Regions from separate parts of the Homo sapiens genome. Here region 2 is linked to region 1. Evidence: promoter capture Hi-C in 16 types of primary human blood cells and fetal thymus (Javierre and others, 2016). All regions are on one chromosome and are shown on one strand. Each heading gives the region's core, a stretch centred on a gene start or on the middle of the fragment in contact. The rest is flanking DNA. Distances are from core to core; before and after follow the strand shown. Region 1 holds the start of HBS1L (HBS1 like translational GTPase). Region 2 overlaps SGK1 (serum/glucocorticoid regulated kinase 1).

Region 1 (6,807 bases), core at 2,321-4,820:
CATTGCTGGTGGAAACATAAAACTTTACAACTGTTTTTGGAAAACAGTTTGACAGTTTCTTTAAAAAGCTGAAGATAACCTATCATATCATTCTACTCCTAGGTATTTACCCAGGAAAAATTAGTTTATGTTTATACGAAGATTCGTACACAGATATTCACAGAAGCCTTATTTACAGTCGTCAAAATGGAAAACAAACCAAATATCTCTCAATGGGTGAATGGAAAAACAAATTGTGGTATATCCACACAGCGGAATCCTCCTCTAATAAAAAGGAATGAACTGTTGATTCAAGCAACTACACAGGTGAATCTCAAAATAATTATGCTGAGTGAATTAAGACAGATAAAAAAGAACACATACTATATGATTTCACCTGTATAAAATTTTAAAAAATGCAAACAACTCATAGTGACAGAAAGACGATCAGTTATTTTGAGGGGCCATGGTGAGGAGGCCTTGACGGGCAGGAAGGATTCCGGGATATTCTGGAATTTTTATTCTGGATATAAAGGTACTTCAGGAAAATTTTGAAAGTCTGGATATGTTCATTATCTTGATGGGGTTGATGGCTTCACTGGTGTATACATACGTCAAAATGTATCAAAATTACACATTATGTGCAGTTTATTGTCAATGATATCTCAATAAAGTTGTTAACATTTTTTCAGTAATGTAGTTATCCTTTCATTCATAATTTTTTTCACAAATCAATATAAAATGATTTGTATTGTTTTTTATGACATTAACAATTCCATAGCAAGAGAAATGTCATTTTATTTCTCTTCTTTTACTCATTAATTCATTCAGCAAACATTTAAAGTGCCAGACATTAGGGTGCCGGAGAAACAAAGATAAAGCTTTGAAATTAGTAGGGGTAGAGAAGTGGCATTTACTGAGTACCCATTCTGCAACACCTACTGTTTTTACATATATCATTTACTTTTCACAAAACAGAAGACATACATTTTCATATATTCGATTTTACAGATGAAGACATTAAATCTGAAGTGGTTAACAGCAACAAAACTGGGACTGAAATCCAGGTTCGTGGTACTCCGAAGTCATAGTACTTTCCATCAAAACACAATACCAGAGTTTTATTCATTTATTTTTTGAGTCGGAGTTTTGCCCTTGTTGTCCAGGCTGGAGTGCAGTGGCACGATCTCAGCTCACTGCAACTCCTGCCTCCTGGGTTCAAGCGATTCTCCTGCCTCAGCCTCCCGAGTAGCTGGGATTACAGTCACCCACCACCACGCACAGCTAATTTTTTTTTATTTTTAGTGGAAGATGGGGGTTTCACCATGGTGGCCAGGCTGGTCTGGAACTCTTGACCTCAGGTGATCCACCCGCCTCAGCGTCCCAAAGTGCTGGGATTACAGGCGTGAGCCACGGTGCCCTGCCCACACCTTACAGAGTCCTGAGGGGAGTGGAACAATCCTAACTTTTTCTGAAGAAGTCAGTGAAGGCTTTGCCATTGAGGCTCTACTGTTTGAGATGCAGTAGATGCTGTGCAATATTTAGAGTTTTAAAGGAGTGCGTTATTGACGACCTAAGGGCAAATTATATATTATCTGACAGAAGTAACGTTTTCTTATTCATTGTTCCTGTAGTACTTTGCTTATGTGGTCTATAACTCATTCACTTCATACCTCAGTGAGTTGTAGTTAAGCTTGTAATTGACAATTACAGTGGAGTGGAAGCTGCCATTTGTATTTTAATAACACAATTTTTTTGGGGGGGTGCAGAGTCTCACTCTGTCTCCAGGCTGGAGTGCAGTGGCACAATCTTAGCTCACTGCAACCTCTGCCTCCCGGGTTCAAGCGATTCTCCTGCCTCAGCCTCCCGAGTAGCTAGGACTATAGGCACGCGCCACCATGCCTAGCTAATTTTTGTATTTTTAGTAGACAGGGAGTTTCACCATGTTGGCCAGAATGGTCTTGATCTCTTGACCTCATGATCCGCCTGCTTCAGCCTCCCAAAGTGTTGGGATCACAGGAGTCAGCCACCGCGCCCGGCCAATAACACAATATTTTTAAGCACCTACTATGATCTGTGATAAATCCTCTTATACGGATACATTATTCACAGCTCGCGAGTTAGTGTCTCTATCTCCTTTTTACAAAGAAACAGGCTGCAAAATAAAAATTACCTAAGGGTGTAAAATAATAAAAACACTTAAGCCATGTAACATTAGCAACTATCTCTATTTTTCTGTAAACTTTTATTTTGGAGCCACATTAAACAACTATTTTTGTAGTCAAACACATTCAAATGCATGAATAAATTACGTTCCAAGCCACTTACAAATATAAACTAAATTTGGATTACTCTTATTTCTTTCTATTGTGCATAGCAAAAAGCTGAGGAAGCTTTTAATTATCTCTAGAACTCAACATTTGCCTTTGATGTGAAGTATCATCATTTCAAAAACACAAGCTAAAACTGAAGTGGTGTTCAGTATAATGAGGTTGGTTTCTTATATAGCATTATTAACTTTATGTTCTGAGAAATGAGGACATTTAATAGCAGGTTATAGATTCATGCATCAACAACATTCAGCATTACCACCTAAGGCCAGTGCTATGTCTAAAAAGCTATATTTAATACTCGCAATGTTACACACAATTATGTCTTCAATGAATGTTCAGTGAATCCTTCTTTATGATGCTGATAAATATCGTCTATATAGCTAAAATCGTTTACATAGCTAAGGGCAAATCGCTGTTTACTAGGGATAGTAATGCCGAACGGAGTGAATACATGAAGTCGTAAATTATATGAATGCAGGGTGACCTAATATAGCCAGGGTCTCAATTTAATAATATATACCCGTTTAAAAATAGCCTTATTTCCTTCTCTAAAGCTTGGACTCTTTTTTTTTTTGAGATAAGGTCTCACTCACTTTGTCGCCCGGGCTGGAATGGAGAGGCCCGATCTCAGCTCACTGCAGCCTCGACCGCCTGGGCTCAGGGGATCCTCCCACCTCAGCCTCTTCAGTAGCTGGGACTACAGGTCTGCACCACAGGGCCGGCTAGTGTTTGTATTTTTTGTAGAGACGGAGCCTCGCTATGTTGCTCAGGCTGGTCTCGAACACCTGAGTTCAAGCGATCCGCCCTCCTAGGCTTCCCAAAGTGCTGGGATTACAGGAAGGAGCCACCGCACCGGCCTGGGCTAAATCTGATTCCAAGTTTACACAAGTTTGTTGAATGCCCACTGTGTGCTTAATGAAAGATCAAAGTTTGATAAAACAAGGTCCCTGCTCTTACTGAGCGCATAGCTTTCTCAGATTATCAGGAACCAAATTTGGAAAATAATCCAGAACGCTGGCGTAGGTAGCTCAAGGTTCCCCGCTTGCAACATTTAGTCCAAACCAGTCAATTCTAGGCGGCGGATTTCCCCATCCCCCTCCGTCGCCCAACCTTTGGGTGGGGCCACTCCCAAACGCTCCCTCCCCTCGTCCCGCCATGCACAGCAGTGCGCATGCGCCCTCAGGGAGGCGGACAGTGACCCTGAGGCATTGCCGTCGCGCGGTGCACAGCTAAGACGTCGCGCTTGCGCAGGCGCTCGGCGCAGAGGCCTGCGGGAAGCCAAGATGGCGCATAGGGGTTCTCCAGGCTGCAGTTGGCGCCTTATCAGTATCTAAGCGGAGTGTTTTGGAAGGAGTTAAGGGGCTGTGGCAAACGCCCTCTCCGCCGTCATGGCCCGGCATCGGAATGTTCGAGGCTATAACTACGATGAAGGTAGGTGGCAGGGTCATGCCGGGACGTTCTTTTCCCGGCTACAGCTGGGATCCTAGCCCGTTGGCATCCACTTCAATCTGTGAGTTTCTCGTCAGTGTTGCCCTGTCGGGATTGGGAGAGCCCCAGTTGGGGAATATAACAGGCCTTCTAGTGCTTTCAAATGCCGTCGTTTTTAAGTCATGATTTCTGCCCTCTGGGGTTGATTTTATTTGGGGAGGGGGAGGTGCTGCATAGCGTCATATGGGTAGGATATTGGTGAGGTTGAGATCCGGTGATATTTAGGCACGTAAGCATTATCACCTCTTCCATTGTTTCCTCCCATGTTGGGCACTAACGTGCCTGCTTCTAGCTCCTCTCTCCCAGATCCCCTTTGAGAAATGTCCATGAAACGTTGCTTATTTGTAAAACACAGATTGACTTAATACATTCAACGGACGTGTACCTGTGTTAGATTTACATGGTAAACCTTTTGTGTATGTCCATACATACCTAGTGCAGAATCAGTTTGCGCTAATTTATTTTTCAACGAATTTCAAAGTGGAAACTTAGGAGACGGTAGAAAAGACACATGTTAAAAAGGCCCAAAGAATGAGTCGATCAGATGGATCTTGAAGTTTATACTTAGTTCTTGGCTGGTAATGCTTGATATAAATGTATTTTGAAATGTAAATAAACGGCAGTACTAGAGGAAAGAGTGTATAGGAAAGGACTTTTTGATATTAAAAAATGAAATAAAAATGTCTGTATGAATGTTCTGTAGGAGTTAACAGGAGTTAGAATTATTTTTAGGAGGAGCACATCCCTCTTCATGCAGTAGATAACTATAGGCATCACCAAGCATCACATAAACTAAAAATATAAACAAAAATGAACTAATGCAGGAGAAGAATAAAGAACTATGCTTTACGAAGTGCAGAACATGTAGTGCTTAATATGTTGGTGATTGTCATTGGCACCCCAGTAGATTATTATAGAACATCAGTATGCTTTAACTAGAGTGAGGGCAGCTAACACCCTGTTCTCCATTTGGAACCTGTGACCTCAGTCCGTCTAGAACATGTGAATTTTCTGGTGGTTACTTTAGAATGGAGGCCCTTTTAAATAAATATTGCAGTGGATGGTATTGCATGTGGACCATTGTCACCTAAGAAATGACTTTAGATTGAGAGAGATTTTTGCAAATATAAAGTACATGAATAGGCCTATTTATTATTCATTCATTTCTTTAATAGTTGTTTATCATTTCCTCAACCACCATTAAGTTAGTGCTTAGAGTACTGTTCTAAGCTTTGAGGACTGAAAGTAAGATATTTGAGGGTGGTCTAAAAGGAGAAGATTATACGAGTTACAGATTATTAGAGTATGAAAAATGCTACAAAAGGTACTGAGAAAACGCTATGGGAGGGATACACAGATGAGAACACTTAATTCAGAATGGATTGGGGGGAATTTAAGCAGGATTTCTACGTTAAGGAATGCTTCATGGAGGAGAGGTGGTTGGCCTCAGGGAGCACCTTGGCTTCTTGAGGTTAGGTTGTCATGTTGTCATGCTTCTTTGAAACAATTGGTGACATCATAACCAAGCTGTTCCTGTAACATTAAGGAGGTTCATCCCCTTTTCTTGTTTATAAAAGTTGTACTCATTAAGGTCCAGTTTATTTCTCTTCTTCCCAGTTAGGCTTTCTCTTGAATTCTCAGAATAATAATTTAAAAATTCTGTTAAGAAATATAACCTCATTAGAGAGAGTTTGTGTTCTAAAACCTACTGGTTCCGCTACTTAACTCCCACTTTGTTTTTCTCTGTAATTTATGTAATACTTTACATGACTGCCTCAGTCACTGATTTAAAAGTCTCAGGAAGGCAAAATCCATACTTTAAGTAGCTGGCACAATGTTCTTTACATGTGGTAAATATTTCATAATTTTGTTGATTGAGGAAACAAACTATGAAGATTGCAGGAAAGAATTCTCTTCATCTTTATATGTTGTGGCACTTTAGGGTCAACTTCAGCATTGACAAACTGACCTAGTAAAAAAGAGTTTTTTTTCTTTTTTTTTTTTTTTTAAGAGACAGGATCGCACTTTGTTGGTTGGCCAAGCTGGAGTGCGAGTGCAGTGGCATGATCATAGCTCTCTGTAACCTCCAACTCCTGGGCTCAAGCAATCCTCGTGCCTCAGCCTCCCGAGTAGCTAGGTCTACAGGCATGTGCCCCCATGCCCGGTTAATTTTTTATTTTAGTAGAGACAGCATCCGGCTGTGTTGCCCAAGCGAGATCCTCCCTCCTCGGCTTCCCAAAGTACTGGAATTACAGGTGTGAGCCACGATGCCTGGCCTATTGTTGTCTTCAATATCTAAAAATACTTTGTTTGTGAATGGCCCCTTGTTTATTTGCAAATAAATTTTTATTAACTTGGGATTGTGATCTAATAATTTATTTAATCATATATGTTTTTGCCCAATAGTAGCATTTATCTAATTTTTCTTTGCTGTAAGCATTTGGTCTCAGCCTTTGAGCATGCTGTTCCTGCTGCATGAATACCCTCAGAAACTAGCTAACTCTATCCTTTGGAATTGGTTTGGATATTATATTAATGGGGATCTTTCCCTAGCTGCCCCACTCCCGGTTCTAGTTTTGTCATTCATGTGTGTGTTCCCAAATTGCTCTGTGTTTCTCACATCAGGCACTTGTCACATGGTTTTGTAATTGCCCATTATCTTGTGTGTATTCCTTGTCAGATTTTAGGTGCAGTGATAACTGGAAATGTGTTCACTGTTATACCACAGTTGTCTCAACTACTCCCTGGCATGGTGTTAGTGTTTGTCAAATGAAATTTATGTAAATATATTTATGTTCTTTGTGGGTTTTTAGTTGTAATTAGTTTGATTCATTAATTTATAATAAAACAAATATTAATCTAGTGCCCCATATGTGCCAGGTAGTTGGCTAAACCAAGTCTTGCCCTGAAGAAGCTGATAGTCTCATGTAGTGAACAGGCGTAGCGCTCTGTAAATTGGGTAAGTGTGCTGGAGGGTAACAGTAGCAGAGGGGCTTACTGCTTTACC
Region 2 (6,807 bases), core at 1,219-3,718, 890 kb after region 1:
TGACAGGACATCTTACAAGAGAATTTGCACATCTCTGGAAGCTTAGCAATCTTATTGCACACTGTTCGCTGGAAGCTTTTTGAAGAGCACATTCTCCTCAGTGAGCTCATGAGGTTTTCATTTTTATTCTTCCTTCCAACGTGGTGCTATCTCTGAAACGAGCGTTAGAGTGCCGCCTTAGACGGAGGCAGGAGTTTCGTTAGAAAGCGGACGCTGTTCTAAAAAAGGTCTCCTGCAGATCTGTCTGGGCTGTGATGACGAATATTATGAAATGTGCCTTTTCTGAAGAGATTGTGTTAGCTCCAAAGCTTTTCCTATCGCAGTGTTTCAGTTCTTTATTTTCCCTTGTGGATATGCTGTGTGAACCGTCGTGTGAGTGTGGTATGCCTGATCACAGATGGATTTTGTTATAAGCATCAATGTGACACTTGCAGGACACTACAACGTGGGACATTGTTTGTTTCTTCCATATTTGGAAGATAAATTTATGTGTAGACTTTTTTGTAAGATACGGTTAATAACTAAAATTTATTGAAATGGTCTTGCAATGACTCGTATTCAGATGCTTAAAGAAAGCATTGCTGCTACAAATATTTCTATTTTTAGAAAGGGTTTTTATGGACCAATGCCCCAGTTGTCAGTCAGAGCCGTTGGTGTTTTTCATTGTTTAAAATGTCACCTGTAAAATGGGCATTATTTATGTTTTTTTTTTTGCATTCCTGATAATTGTATGTATTGTATAAAGAACGTCTGTACATTGGGTTATAACACTAGTATATTTAAACTTACAGGCTTATTTGTAATGTAAACCACCATTTTAATGTACTGTAATTAACATGGTTATAATACGTACAATCCTTCCCTCATCCCATCACACAACTTTTTTTGTGTGTGATAAACTGATTTTGGTTTGCAATAAAACCTTGAAAAATATTTACATATATTGTGTCATGTGTTATTTTGTATATTTTGGTTAAGGGGGTAATCATGGGTTAGTTTAAAATTGAAAACCATGAAAATCCTGCTGTAATTTCCTGCTTAGTGGTTTGCTCCCAACAGCAGTGGTTTCTGACTCCAGGGGAGTATAGGATGGTCTTAAAGCCAACCTACGTTCCAGGCCTTTTTAGCAGCATTTTATGGTGTCTGTCATTCATAAATCCATCCAAGGAAATCCTTTGCAATTTACTCATCTTGCAAGGATTGCTATGAAGTAATGCTTCCTGTATTTATTGCCTGTCCTGTGAAGTTGGACTATTTGTCCTGACATTTGGCTTGTCTTCAGTTACAGGTAATTCTTTCCAGAAATATTTGAAAGCCTACTCTGGGCTCTATTGCGAGTGCTCAGGATATCGTAGTGGACAAAGCAGACAACTTCGCCCTTCCAGAGCCTGATGAAGAAGGCCGACCTAAAGCAGTTAGTTGAGATGGAAATTGAGAAATAGTCTGTGAAGTTTAGGAGAATGCCACACAAGAGGGTGAGAATTTTTTTTTTTTTTTTTTTTTTTTTTGAGACACGGTCTTACTCTGTCGCCCAGGCTGGAGTGCAGTGGTGTGATCTTGGTTCACTGCAGCCTCCGCCTCCTGGGTTCATGTGATCCCCCCATCTCAGCCTCCTGAGTAGCTGGGACTACAGGCATGCACCACCATGCCTGGCTAATTTTTGTATTTTAGTAGAGATGGGATTTCACCATGTGGGCCAGGCTGGTCTCGAATCCCTGGCCTCAAGTGATCTGTCTGCCTCGGCTTCCCTAAGTGCTGGGGAGAATGTTTTAAATAAGTGGATATGTTCCCAAAAAGCTGACCTGGCTGGGACATCTGGTTTCTGAGAGTACCTGGAGTTGACCCAGGTCTAGAGTGAGCTCAGTAAAGGGACCCTGAAGGAGCTCATCCCTAGCTTGGACTGAAGCTTCTTGAGCCAGTGTCTACCTAGCACCCTAAGGGCCCAGCAGGCTCTGGGGCTGTGTGGCAGAGCCCACTCCTAGAGCTCACCCCACTGTGATATTACCTGTGGGAGAAAGCGAGGTGGCACCATCCTTGGAGATCTTGAGTCCAAAGGTTTGGACTTTTTCACTCTTCTAGGTCTTCCACACAAATACTTAACAAATAATCAGGGAATCCCCAAACAGTTGATGTTGCTGCTGCCTTAATTGCAAAAGCACCCTGTAGGCCTGCTGCACCCCCGCTACCCTGACCTTCCAGTTCGCACAGGGATTTCCCCAAGGGAAAGCTGTGAGCTTTTTTCCTCTTATCCTTGCTCTTGGGTCTCACCTCACTTTGCCTCAGTCCCCCTCTCCTACCCCACAAGGTTTCCAAGGGCCAAACAGGTGTTCAGAGATAACCGAGTTCTTCTCCCTCATGATCTAATGAAGGAAGAAGATGAAAACGAGTCGATAGCTTTTTGCTCAAGGTGGGCCACCGGTCATGCTCTGCTGTTGACTTACTGCTCTACAGGCATTAGCTACGTGTTCAATTCCCTACCGGGCCCAGTTGACAAATAAAGAGTCCAAAGCAAGGCCAGGCACGGTGGCTCACGCTTGTAATCCCAGCACTTTGGGAGGCCGAGGCGGGCAGATCACGAGGTCAGGAGATCGAGACCATCCTGGCTAACATGGTGAAACCCCGTCTCTACTAAAAATACAAAAAAATTAGCCGGGCGTGGTGGTGGGCGCCTGTAGTCCCAGCTACTCGGGAGGCTGAGGCAGGAGAATGGCGTGAACCAGGGAGGCGGAGCTTGCAGTGAGCCGAGATCGCACCACTGCACTCCAGCCTGGGCGACAGAGCAAGACTCTGTCTCAAAAAACAAAACAAAAAAAAAGCATGTATTTTCCTATTAAAGATTGATGCCGGCTCTAACATAGAGACTCATTGCATATTCCCCCTCATTCTCATTCTCAATAACAGTTATGAATTCCTCCTCGAACAAAAAGTGCTTAAATCTCATTTTCATCTGAACACAGTTCAGGTGGGCTTAGGAATCTGCAATCTAATTATAGATAACTCAGATGGGCCAGTCACGAGTTACAAAGCTTTTTTTTATGTTTTGAAGGTAGAATTCTGGTTTACTGGATTATAGTCCATCACTTCACATAGAAGATCTGAATTGTGTTTCTCCAGAATTGAAAGGTGCCAGAGGAGACCCAAACATTGTCACCCAGATGGGAGATAAGATCAAGCACAAGTGGGTGGGAAGAGAACAAGGCAAGAACAGGGAAGTCAAGAAAGAACAAGAGATCAATAAACAAATGACAAATATTTACTAAGCACTGTACTGTCAAATAATGTGTGTGCAGAGGTATCTTTTACCTAAGGGAGTGGGGCATATCCCTGCCAGCACATTCCCTGAGCCCCAGCCAGCCTGCCTTTGAGCACGACAATTGATTGGAAAAGGGATAATTGTCTTCTCCATAGCTCTCCAGCTGTAGGTCTACTCAAATATGGGTTTGGGGGAACCAATTCAGCTAAGATTCTCATAAGCTAAAATGTGTCTAAAACCACTGCTACCAAAAAGAATAAGTCAGTCACTGCCCTTACAGAATTTGCCATCCACCTGGGGAGACAGGCACCTACCCTTAACATGTGACAGGCAGTGAACAAGGGGTAAAGGGAACTTCAGACGTCCAGCGGCTCTCTGCGGGGTCGGGTGCCTAGAGCAGGCTTCATAGACGGGAAGCTCTAAGATTCTTCCTAACCAATTCTAGGAACTCTAATAGGATACAGGCCCTGAGGACCGGATTATAATCGTAATAGCTAATTCTACTGAGCTCTTATTATGTGTCAGACAATGTTCTAAGTTTGTTTTTTTTGTTTGTTTGTTTTTGAGACACGATCTCTATTGTCTGGGCTGGAGAAAAGTGGTACAATCATGGCTCACTGCAGCCTCAACCTCCTGGACTCAGGTGATCCTCCCACCTCAGCCAACCAAGTAAACAACGTTTTGTTTCTTAATAAGTCTTTTTCGGAGACGTGGTTTCACCATGATGCCCAGGCTGGTCCTGAGCTCCCTAAGTGCTAGGATTACAGGCATGAGCCACCATACCTGGCTGTTCTAAGTATTCTGTAGTCAAGCTGTTTACTCTTCATAACAATGCTGTGATGTCAAAAGTGAAGAAACTCGTACAGAACGGTCATTAGCTGGTCAGTAAGTGGTGAGATCGAAAGTCAAATCATGTCAATCTGGCCCAAAAGCCTATGCTTGTAGCCATTACTTTATCCGGCCTCAGAGGTGACAGAAGAGTATAAAAGCAAACAGCTGTGTACTTGTTAGTCATCCATTTATTAATTCACCAGACTTTTACAAAGATACCTTCTAGATGTCATGCTAGGCAAAAAGAGGGGGATGGAGAGGGAGAGGGAGAGAGAGGGAAAATTTGTAATTACAGACACTATCAGTGACTGATGAAGATAAGAAGCAGCTGCAAAAATATACATTGCAGTGGGAGTATAACTTGGTGCACCATTTTGGAAAACTGCTTGGCAGTATCTACTAAAGATGAAGATATCTATAACTTGTGGCCCAATCGTTCTCTTCCACAGTATAGACCCCAAAGACTGCACACATATGCAATACAAAATTTGCAATAGTGTTCCCAGTAATACTATTTATGACAGCCCCAAAATGGGAACCATTCAAAATGTCCACCTATAGGAAAATGAATAAAGAATTTAGTGTGGTTTCATATACTGAAATACTACCCAATGAAAATGAGTGAATAATTGCTATATACAACAAGGAATAGATCTCATAAACAAAACCCAGACTGTATGATTTGATTTATATAAAATGTAAAAGCAGGCAAACAGCATGAATTGATTTGGAAGTTAAGATGTGATCACCTTTGGGGAGGAAGGCAGAGCTCATAGTTGAGAGGGTGCATAAGGAAGACATCCTACCAGGTGCTGTTAATTTCTTGATCTGATCTTGAGCTTGATCTTGATTTCATCAAGCTATACACTTATGATACATGCATTTTTCTCTGTATGTGTTATATAACAAAAATGTGCATTATAAATATGTGGTATGATGAAAACAGGTGTTTGCGTACATAGGAGTGACACCTTACTCAACTTGGGGGGCAGGAAATGGGAGTACATTTTTAGGTAGTTTAGGAAAAAGGTGCTTAGGGAGATCTGGAGAATCCAGGTAGGCTGTCTTGGAGAACTGGATCTTGAAAATGAGGCAGAAAGGCCATTCCACATTCAGGCTTGTAGTGGGGGCCGGACTTGCATAAGGATAATGAATGGGACAGTGGCAATAGAAAGGGACCAGACAGACCTAGGGCAGAATCTCAGCTCTATTGACCAGCTTTCTTTCTTTTCTTTGAGACGGGATTTTTCAGTAGAGGCAGGGTTTCGCCATATTGGCCAGGCTGGTCTCAAACTCCTGACCTCAGGTGATCCACCCGCCTCAGCCTCCCAAAGTGCTGAGATTACAGGCATGAACTACCGTGCCCGGCTGAAAAAATTTTAAGTAGGGAGATGGACCATGTCTTTCATGTTCTTAATAATCCCACGGGGGAGACGTTTAGCTTTCATCAGATAGCAAAGGAAGCATTTGAAGGTTTTCCATGAGGAAAGTGAAGTGATTCAGAGTGTTTTACTGGCTATCACTAAGAGGTGTGAGAGCGAGAAAGCTTTGAAATTAATATAAAAGCCCCTTAGGAGACTTCTGACAGTCATCCCAGTGGTGGTGGTGAGTAAAGGACAGAGGAGATGTTTCCACGTTCCCACGTCAATGAGACTTAGTGAGTTACGATGGTGGAAGACGGATGAATGCAAAGCAAAGCACATTTCATGTAATTTACTTCTTTAATGTACTTGACAACTTATTGAAGCAGTTGTCACAGCTGCAATAATAGTTTCTAGGACAAAGGCCGCCCACCAGTTTCTTCAACATCCCCAGTATATAACGAATCAGCCAGTCAATAATCAATCAATTTAATTGGCAAGGCAAGACGTTATGCCCTGTAGTCAATCTCTAACCTATCCTGTTAAGTAATTTCTCTCCTCATCCTTCAAAAAGCCCCTAAAATCCAGCCTGGGCAACAAGAGCAAAACTCCATCTCAAAAAAAAAAAAAAAAAAAAAAAAAAGAAAAAGAAAGAAAGAAAGAAAGAAAGAAAGAAAAAGCCTCTAAAATCCTATGTAACATTCCTCGAGCTTTGTACTAGGGGTATAGCAATGTTAACACTTTTCCTGGTGTTAATCAGAACAATACTTCTATTAACAAAAACAACAAACCTGCACATATATTCCCTGAATCTAAAATAAAAATTGAAAAAAAAAAAAAACTACAAAAAACAAAATAGAAAATAAAAATGCAATCATCCAAATAAATTAAGCCAAATTTGAAAGTATTTAAATGTTTTTCTCATACTGCATGAAAAGTGTTAATTATTCAAACCAAAAATTAGCTTATTGCTTACACTTCACTGTAGCTTGCAAGTGATCTTTTCTAGTCTTTTTTTTCTTCTTTACATTTTTAATAATTTTGGTACTGCTGCTCCTTGTGAAGCAGGGTTAATTCATAGGCAGTGTGCCTGCAATCAGCCCTTTCCTAGTCTAATTTGGCCACTGCAAACAAATGTACATGAGAACACATTTAGTTTACATATAGTTTACATATGTTTTCTCTGCTTTCCACATGTTTTCTGTGAAAGACTTTATCAGCAAAATTATGAGCAATCATTAGAGGTTTTTGTTTGTTTGTTTTTGTTTTGAGACAGGGTCACCCAGGCTGGAGTACAGTGATGCAATCACAGCTCCCTGCATCCTCTGCCTCCCTGGCTTAAAAAAATCCTCCCACCTCAGC

What was found. Contacts are between HindIII fragments. The CHiCAGO score rates a contact against its expected background, and 5 or more counts as called.
Region 2: a fragment that was not itself captured here is called in contact with the fragment with the promoter of HBS1L in region 1 in 1 of 17 cell types (fetal thymus); the score reaches 6.4 in fetal thymus.

Annotation. Positions count from the first base shown.
Region 1 is chr6:135,051,585-135,058,391 of GRCh38, reverse strand. It overlaps HBS1L (HBS1 like translational GTPase), which reads left to right and starts at 3,570. Exons shown (of 18, transcript NM_006620.4): 1 at 3,570-3,743. The coding sequence starts at 3,701. It overlaps LOC124901405 (a long non-coding RNA gene), which reads right to left and starts at 3,499. Exons shown (of 2, transcript XR_007059775.1): 1 at 2,906-3,499. LOC124901406 (a long non-coding RNA gene) reads left to right here. Exons shown (of 2, transcript XR_007059776.1): 2 at 103-674. RefSeq lists an enhancer at 3,362-3,411. The HindIII fragment of the contact is 2,164 bases long and covers 2,869-5,032 here.
Region 2 is chr6:134,163,382-134,170,188 of GRCh38, reverse strand. SGK1 (serum/glucocorticoid regulated kinase 1) reads left to right here. Exons shown (of 14, transcript NM_001143676.3): 14 at 1-933. Among named protein-coding and RNA genes, the nearest start is that of SLC2A12, 110 kb to the right of the region's middle. The HindIII fragment of the contact is 1,120 bases long and covers 1,909-3,028 here.